Regions from separate parts of the Homo sapiens genome. Here region 2 is linked to region 1. Evidence: promoter capture Hi-C in human tissues and cell types (Jung and others, 2019). All regions are on one chromosome and are shown on one strand. Each heading gives the region's core, a stretch centred on a gene start or on the middle of the fragment in contact. The rest is flanking DNA. Distances are from core to core; before and after follow the strand shown.

What was found. Contacts are between HindIII fragments. The study calls those that stand out against the background at their distance.
Region 2: a fragment that was not itself captured here is called in contact with the fragment with the promoter of NEDD1 in region 1 in 1 of the 25 tissues and cell types used here (dorsolateral prefrontal cortex).

What each region holds. Positions count from the first base shown.
Region 1 is chr12:96,903,933-96,908,718 of GRCh38, forward strand. It overlaps NEDD1 (NEDD1 gamma-tubulin ring complex targeting factor), which reads left to right and starts at 3,325. Exons shown (of 16, transcript NM_152905.4): 1 at 3,325-3,368; 2 at 3,672-3,924. RefSeq lists a silencer at 3,358-3,637 and enhancers at 3,878-3,967, 4,008-4,147. The HindIII fragment of the contact is 14,202 bases long and covers 1-4,786 here.
Region 2 is chr12:98,361,037-98,365,558 of GRCh38, forward strand. No RefSeq gene overlaps it. Among named protein-coding and RNA genes, the nearest start is that of TRD-GTC1-1, 140 kb to the right of the region's middle. The HindIII fragment of the contact is 6,943 bases long and covers 1-4,522 here.

The sequences.
Region 1 (4,786 bases), core at 2,075-4,574:
GTTTCCTTCCTTTGTTTTTTTCAGTTTGTCAAGCATTTTAAATCATGGATAGATATTAAATTTAAAAAAAATGTTTTTGCTTCATCTATTGATATAATTATATGGGCTTTCTCCCTCATTTTGTTAATATGGTGAATTATGTTAATTGATTTTTGAGTGTTAAACCAATCTTGGATTTCTCGAAGAAATCTCACTTGATTATAATCCTTTTTATAAATTACTGGATTTACTTTGCATATATATGTGTATCTATATAATTTTGTCTCCATGCATAAGGGATATGAATTATGGATATTTCTTATAATGTCTTTTTCTGGTTTAGTATCAGAGTAATACTGCCTCTAAAAAATGGGTTTAGCAAATATTCTCTTCTTTTCTGTTTTCCTAAAATGTTGAATTATTTCTTCATGTGTTTGATAGAATTCAACAGTAAAGCCATCTGATCCTGGGGTTCCTTTGTGAGATGGCTTTCTTAATTTTGAATTCAATTTTTATGGTACATATAGGGCTATCATATTATCTATTGCTTCTTGTGTCAGTTTTAATACTTGTCTTTCAAGGTATTCATTTGTTTTAGTTGTGACCAAATTTATTGACATGGAGTTGTTTATCCTATTCCCTTATTTTTGTAAATATCCTTTGGATTTGTATTGATGGCTTCTCTTTCAATCTTGATATTGGTAATTTGTGTTTTCTCTTTCTTATTGGTAAGTCTAGCTAGAGATTTCTCAATTTTATTAATCATTTCAAAAATCAGCTTTTGGTTTCATTGATTTTTCTCTATTGTTCATCTTTGTTCAATTTCATTGTTCTGTACTGTAATCTTTGTGTTTAATTTGTTCTCTAAGTTTCTTAAGAGAGAGCATAGATCATTGATTTTGGACTTTTCTTTTTTTCAGAATATAAACACTGATTTCATAATATAAGCACTGATTTAGCTGTTTCCATGAATTTTTATTGTATTTTACTTATCACTCGGTTCAAATATTTTCTGTTATTATTAATATTTGTGATTTGATTTTTTCCTTCACCTATGGGTTATTAGAAGTAAGGTTGTTTTATTTCACGTTTGGGGCTTTTCTAGATGTGTTATTGTTTTTTATTTATATTTAATACTGTTGTGATCAGAGAGTATTGTCTGTAAGATTTATTCTGTTAAAAATCAATTGACTTGTTTTATAGCCCAATATATGCTCCATTTTCATGTGTATTTGAAAAGAATGTTTATCCTGCAGTAGTTGGCTATAGTGTTCTATAAATGTCAGTTAAAATAGTTGATAAGTGTACAGATCTTCCACATCTTTTCTGATTTGTTTTTCTTATCTGGATGTTCTATGAATTACTGAGAAAATTCTGTCAGTCTCCAACAATGACTATGGGTATGCTTTTTTCCTCCTTTAGCTTTGATACTTATTCTTCATATATTTCAAAATTCTCTTACGTTCACCTATACACTTAAAATTGATAATGGCTTGTGGTTATTTACCATTTTATCATTATGAAATATTTCTCTTTGTCTCTAGAAATATTCTTTGTTGTGATGGCTACTTTTGGAAATCTGTATATGTTTATATAATTCATATATTAGCAAGGCTTCTAACATTTGGCATCTATTGTTCGTTAAACTATTATACAGAACTGAGGAAACAGTGTATACATAGGCACAGAGGCACGGACAAAAATGACAGGACTGTTTCAGGGCCAGTAAGATTTGATGAGGCCGCAGCATCAGTGAGGACAGAGGAATGGAGGTTTCCATTTGGCCCTATACGCTGTGTTATGGCTCTTGACTGTATAGCATAAAGGTCTGGGACAGTCTTTGCAGTCTCATGGTCCCAGGTTTAACTTCTGAATCTACCATTTATTAAACTTGTAACCTTGGACAAGTTACTTAACCTCTATTTCCTCATATGTAAAATGGGGACAAATAATAGCACATACTTCATGTGTTTTTAGAAAGATGAAATTATATATATATTGCATACATACACATTACGTCTATATACACAAATACAGTGCTTAGTAAAGTGTTCAATAAATATCTATTTTTATATGTATAACTAGTATTATATCATATAATATGTATATATTATATTACATGTATTATTATATATATTTTCATATAGTCTAGTCTCAATTTTCCTGCTGGCTTCAATTTTCAGAGATTTAATTAATTGCCCTTTTTGTTTGAAGTTTTCTTTTCTCCATTTGCTCCCATTCTCCCTGCCCCCACTCCCTTACCGTACTTTCTTAGTTCCCAACTTTCTGGGCCTCCTCCCTGCCCAAATTGGATTTCATAGCCTCAAGAACTGCAGACTGTACAATTAAGGTAGTTGCTGCTTGCTATCTTTCTCCTTTTGCCACTCCCCCATGAACCTCAGTAACTTGGCTACGATTTCAATTTCTGCTCTGAAAAAATGCACTTATTAGAATTTTCCAATTATCTGCAATATGAATGCAGATAACTGGGGCTGATGTACCTAGTTCAGAAACACACCCCATGTAGTTGTGATGAAAGAATAACACTTTTTGCAGAAGAAATGCTCTATATTTATGATAAATATTCTTAGCAAAAATTGTCAGTAGAGCTATAAAAGGACCTTTGGAAGGGGCACTTGAAAACTCGGCTCAGCAACTTCCTTTTCCACCTTGAAGTATCCCCTTCAAAAGAATTCCCAAACAGATGATGTTTGATGTTCCGGACCTCGCAGCATGATGCGAAAGAAAGATCATGGGTTTTGAAGTAGGTTAGTGCAGACGCCTACTCTTTGGGTTATTTCTCAGCCTGAGCGCGTTTCCTGGCTTGTAAATCGCATGTAGGAATCCTTTCCTAAATCCACATCCACAATAGTTTCCCTTATTATGGGTCTTCGTGCATCTTATACCTTTCATTATCATAGTTTCACTTTCCATTTAAGCATCTAATAACGTCAGCTTCCTATAGTGCATTGTAAGCTCCACAAGGCCAAGGACCACGAGAATTCACTGTACCCCTGTATCCCCAGGCTAAACCATCACTGTACACTCAAGAGTCTAGCACAGTGCCTGGCACACAGTAAACAGCAAGTGAATGACAAGCAGTTGGCAGTGGCCGGAGCTCCGTCGCTGGGGCGTGGAGAGGGCCGCCCCGGCCCGCAGTTCCCGCCCTGACACTGGGATAACTTCCCCCGCGGCTGCCCAGCGCCGCCCTGACCAGACCCTCTGTACCCCGACTTCTGTCCGGCCAGAAGCCACAGCCGCACGCAGCGCCTCGCCCCGTGACGTCACTCGGGGCGGGACTTCCGGCCGCCGAAGTTTAACAGTCCAGGCGGGAGCCGGAAGCCCAGCGCGGAGCCGGCCGCGGCCCCCTGTTGTGTTGCTGCGGAGAGGTGAGGTTCCGGAGGCCCTGAGGTCAGCGGGCCCCCGCCCGCCGCGTCCGCGCACCCTCCCGATCCTAAGACCCGCTCCGTCCCCCTCAGAGGGCGGGGCGGCGGTCCTTGGGCTTTGCGCGCCCGGAGCGGTTGCTGGGCGGGGGCGCGGCGGCGCGCTGGGCTGGGAAGTGTCCGGGGAGGCGCGGGCCGGGGTCGCGCACCTCCCGGAGCCTTGTGGGGTGTGCTGCCTCCGAAAAGTTTGCCTCGTCTCCACAAGTCTGTCTCCTTTTTTGTCAACCTCAAGTACTTTTCTTTTGGCAGGTACTTGGATGCATTTTACAGGTTAGCCTCACTTGAGCTGTTGTCCTGCAAGTAAAGTGTATTTTTGGTGATTGAAAGTTGGAGAACTTTCATTTCAGCTGAGTGGTGTAGTTGAATTGGTTCCTGTAGCCGCTGTCCCTAAACCCAGGCCGACGTTACCGCCTTGTGTCCTGACTGCTAGCTTTCGACGGGACCGTCTTTGAGGGACTCATGTAAAGTCTCTCCCTTAATGCTCAGTTCTTAGAAGACCGAGGTAGGTGGGCAGATGGTCCTCTTCCCCGCCCCGCTTTAAGAGCCGAAAACAAACATTAAATCACCCGGCGAGTTGTGTTTCCTAAGTTGGAGCAGGTCGTTTGAACCCAGTTTTTCTGAGCCCAGGCCTCAGTGATCTACCCACTACACCCCGCAGCTCACCAGGCCTGGTTACGATGCAGTTAGACACAGCTTGCAGTTGTGGTTTACAGGGCTTAGAGCTCGCTTTTCCAGCAATTCATTAGTTGTTCCTTGACTTGGGAACCAAGGGGGCACGTGTTACACATGTTTAAGGCTCCAAATCCAAACATTGTGTTACATCTCTGCAGGTGACTTTAATGGCTTTTAGTAGCACTGTATCGGATGAATGGAGCATAAGGAAGCACATGAGTGAATTACATTAACTTTTTGTCTCGAGAATGAAACGTTTCTATAATTCTGTCTTTAACTTGTCCTCTGAAATGGCTTATACTAGACGTAGGTGTGCTGTTGTATTGGTGACTCGGGGACCTGCCTGTGACATCACTAATGCTGTGCAGTAGTCTTGCACTTTCCATACTAGGAAGGTGTGGGAGGTATAATTCTGTGCCCTCTCCCTTTCCTTTTCTCCCATGTACTTTTGAGCATCTTTTTTTCTCACTTATCGTTCATTACTACCTGTTGCTCTTTAAAGTGCCTGTCTAGAGCAGCTTCTTTGCCTTCTGTTTTCTAGACTTCCTTGGTTTGTGAAATCACCTTGTTAGAATTACGTGTTTCAGCTGTATGCTCTGAATAAATGATTGAAGGCATCGTAGTCCAAGTATTGGTATAGGGACTTAGTGGCGTCTCATTTGACCATATTGCTAATTTTAGAGTTTTGGAAA
Region 2 (4,522 bases), core at 233-2,732, 1.5 Mb after region 1:
GTGTGAATGGTCTGTACGTGTGTAGTTTGTGTGTGGTATGTGTGTATGCATGGTGTCTAGGTGTGTTGGAGGGTGTGTGATGCAGCGGTGCATGTATGATACATGTGTGTCTGTGTTTGTGTGTGTTGTCTGTGTGTAGTGTATGAGTATATATGGTGTGTTTATGTGCATGTGGGGGTGTGCATGGTTTGTATGTGTGGTAGGTGTGCATGCATATGGTAGTGTGTGCACATGGTGTTTCTGTGTGTTGTCTGTATGCAGTGTATGAGTATGGTGTGTGTTCACACATGTGGTGGGGAGGTATGCGTGGTTTGTATGTGCACATGCATACATGCATGTATGGCTTTGTAGGTGTACATGCATATGGTAGTGTGTGTGTGTGTGTGTGTGTGTGGTTGTGTGTTGTCTGTGTGTGGTGTATAAGTATATAGGGTGTGTGTTCATGCATGTGGTGGGGGGTATGCATGGTTTGTATGTGTGGTAGGTGTGCATGCATGTGGTAGTGTGTGCATGTGGTAGGTGTGTATATGCATGAACACACACTCATATGACCATATACTGCTACGACCTACAGAGTTCTTCATACACCCTGGAATTCAAGTGTGTTCTACAAGTGTCTTATATATCTGTGGCACATGTGTCCATTTGAGCTGCCTGTGGCAAGACACTGCCTAGACACTGCATTAGAGCCAATCATAGCTATTTAAGAGAAAAGACAAAACACTTAACCTAAGTGCCAAACACACAGTGGTCATTCCATTTGGTAAATGTATTTGAAAAAGAAAGGTCGGGAGAAGGAAAGATGATTCCAAAGAATCTCAAAATTAGGATTTTTCCTCAAAAAGAATGTTAGAATTTAAGGGATAATGCTAATTAGTCACACCTCTTCCCTTACGGGTTCTGAACCCATTGAGGAGACAGACTCAGATCTACAGAGCTGAAATGATCAGCTATGTTTCCAAAAAGGCTGCCTTGGAGAATTTGCCTTGACCCATGACCAGAACTGATTTGCCAACAAGGAGGCCAGGCCTCCCCTAGCTCCAAAGAGCAGAGCAGCCCTACTGAATCTAAGAGACAGAGGGGCAAGGAGGGGACAAGTGCTGAGGACAGGTTGCTGGGAAAGAGAGACCCAGAGGGGCTGAACTCCACACCCCATGACCTTCTTCCCAGCCAGGGTAGGGACAGGGTAAAAGGACAGGGGCTTTCCTCCCAAGTCTTCCATTCTTCATAAGGTGGAAATTCCTACTTCATGGATCAAGGCAGAAAAAACAAAACAAAACAAAAGAGAAAGAAAATGATTTTTTTATGACTCCAAAGATATTGTTTTCTCAGTTCAACAGGCTGAAGCATCCAGGCTGTGGCCAACTAAGACTGAATGCAGGGTGTGGAGTCCCCATGGTGGAGTCGCCGGTGGTTAACCCAGACACCCTCATGAGGCCACTTCTTCAACACCAGTCACCAATCCTCTGTTTCCTCCCAGGATTGCTGGTAAGCAATTTCACTTCTGCCCTCCAAAGGAACAAAACCTGTTCATTAAATAACCCACAGGGTTATTTATTTAATGAGCCCACAAATTTTATTTCCAATTCTATTCTCACCTTTAATCATGTCCAGCAATGTGAAGGTAAGTTCGTTTCCTTCTCCTTGCATTTCTGCATGTTACTGTGTCCTTCCCACAGAGTACAACTCCTGACCCCTCCCACCCCTTTCTTACTTCCCAAACGTGGAGAATCCAGACATCTGCTTGGATGAGTGGGAGGAATCCACATTTACTCCCCAGATGGGTTACATCACATGCCTCCTTCACATGTAGCCTCTCCGTCCACACCATCGGGGACCCCACAGTTGGCCAGAGCAATCACTGACCCAGACTCTCCCCATGGTGGGTTGTCCCAACATCTCAGCTTAAGAAAAAAGGATAGAAACCCTGTGTGGCAATGGTTCAAAACTGTGTCCTCCAGTCCACTGCTAGCAGCAGAAAATCCAATATTTTGCCTTCATCTAAATTCTACATTTTTTTTCCTCAATTGATTTTTAACTAGGAGAAGAATCAGAAGTAGGATATTAATGATTTCCTTCAACCCCGATAAAAGATGCCAGTTACATAGACTAGGGAAAGAGAGAGAGGGGAGTCTGCATTTCTTTTGGAGTTGGTGTGATGTTGATATCATTTTTCCCAGTGGCTTTCAGGCTTGTGAAGCCCACCGATTCTTCATAACACCTCTCTTTGTGCTCATTCCCCTTCATTTTCATCATCATTTCCAGGCTTTTATTGCCTCTCAACAGACTTTTGCCACCACCTCTGTATTAGTCGCATTGCTATAAAGAAATACCTGAGACTATGTAATTTATAAGAAAAGAAGTTTAATTGGCTCACAGTTCCACAGACTGTAGAGGAAGCATGGCAGCATCTGCTTTGGGAGAGGCCTCAGGAAGCTTCCAATTACAGCAGAAGGCAAAGAAAGAGCCAGTAATTTACATGGCCAGAGCAGGAGGAAGAGAGAGGGTAGGGAGAGGCGCCACACACTTTGAAACAACCAGATCTTGTGAGAACTCACTCACTATCATGAGAAGAGCACTGAGGGGATGGTGCTAAACCATTCATGAAGACTCTGCCTCCATGATCCAATCACCTCCTACCAGGCTCCACCTCCAAACATTGGGGATGATGCAGATCCAAATCATATCAACCTCCAACTGGGGTCCCAGGATCTAGTTTTGAGCCCCCCTCCAAACTAGCATACACATAATTGTCATATTTAATCTCCCTAAAACTTTTCTCTTTAAAGGAGAATCCCCTGGTCAGGCATATGCAAAGACACCTGTCACACTAGAAGACTGAGCCCAAAATCCTATCCTACTTAGCACAATCCTCCACCACCATGTCTCTTCCAAATGCACCTCTGTTTCTGCAAATCCTCTCCTCCTAACAAACCCAGACATACTTATATGAGTTCCTCTCTCTCTACTTTTACACTAATGTCACATCTTAAGTAAGTTAAACCGATTAGAATTCAGCCTTATGCAATCTTCCCACCACTCCAATCATTCCTCCATTCCCCTGTTTGGCCCATGAGACAAACACAGACGGTGTCTCCTTGTGAATAATATTTATTCTGCTGCTGACTGTTCTCCTCTAATTCAACACCAGCACCTCATCCTCGCTCTTCAATATTTGACATGCATTGAGACCAGCATAGCTAGGGGCATCTGAATGTAGACATGATCACTCCTCCAGCGTCAAGCTCACTTGGGCTTGTCCTCAGCAAAGCTGAGAGCTCAGTGATGCCAAAGTACAGTCCACAGACGTGAAGGCCCACCTTCCTTGCTCCTCCACCAGCCTTCAGTTGCCTCATGGATCTGGTAGTACAAACATCTTGCCCTGCTGATTTGACTCCAGTGACTAAAGCAATGCTATTTTTGTTCAACACCATCCCAAACACAGACCAACTATAGAAATGTGAAGGCTAGAAGGGGCTATGTAGTCCAAAGAAGTAGCAATCTATACTAACTCTGTAGGGAAGAGTGACCGTGCTGAACTTGAAGACAGAAGCCACATGCACATCACAGAATTGATATGAGAGCTTATACTTTGTGGTATACTTCAAGGAATTTTAAGAGTAAAATCTGACTTTCCGTAAATTCAAAGTAATGTGCTCCCCTTTTGAATGCAACCCTTACATTTCCTATGACACTACTGTGCCTGCTCCAAGTGTCCAACCCAATCTCCCCATGTCAATCCCCAGTTGCAGTCCCACCTATTTCTCAGTCCTCACCCTGACCACTAAGCCCTCAGTGATCTCTCCCTCCTCTGAACTCACTTGATACCAGTAGTGTTTCCCTGGCATGTAACTTATGCAACCTTGTATCATTATCCATCTGATTATGGGGGGTGTATGTGTATGTAGTCAATCTCTCTGAAGAGATTATAAACCCCTGAAAGACAGAGACCTTATCTCTTAGTCTTTGCACTTCTACCATCCAGCCACAGTAAGTTCTGGGTAAACACACGTGATGATAATGAATAAATAAAAAAATCCAGTTCTTTGGAAAGACCCCAAAGTCAAGGTGCCAAGGAAAATGTTTGCATATTCTGTCTACCTAGAAAATGCCTGCTCATTCTTCATGATCCAGACCAAATGCTAGCTTTTCTTTGGTGTCATTGAAACAAACACAGACTTTGCAATCAGCTAGAGAGGGATTCAAATTTTCTGTACAACAACTGGATAAGTGATTTTGAATGGAAGTTGTCACTGAGCATTGGTTTCTAATTCTATTAAATAGAAATAGTGAGTTCACCTTAGAGAGCCAGAAAAAATAAAATCATATATAGACAGTATCTAGAACAAGGTAGGCATGAAATCAATGGCAATTAGTAATATTCACTGTCTTTCTCTTGTGCTCCCATGCACTTTGCCCATGTTGCACTACCACTTTACACACTGCATTGTGAATATCTGGGTCTGCATCTAGCTCCTCCACTCTTCTGGGAGCTTTCCAAGGGGAGGGATTATCCTACCTT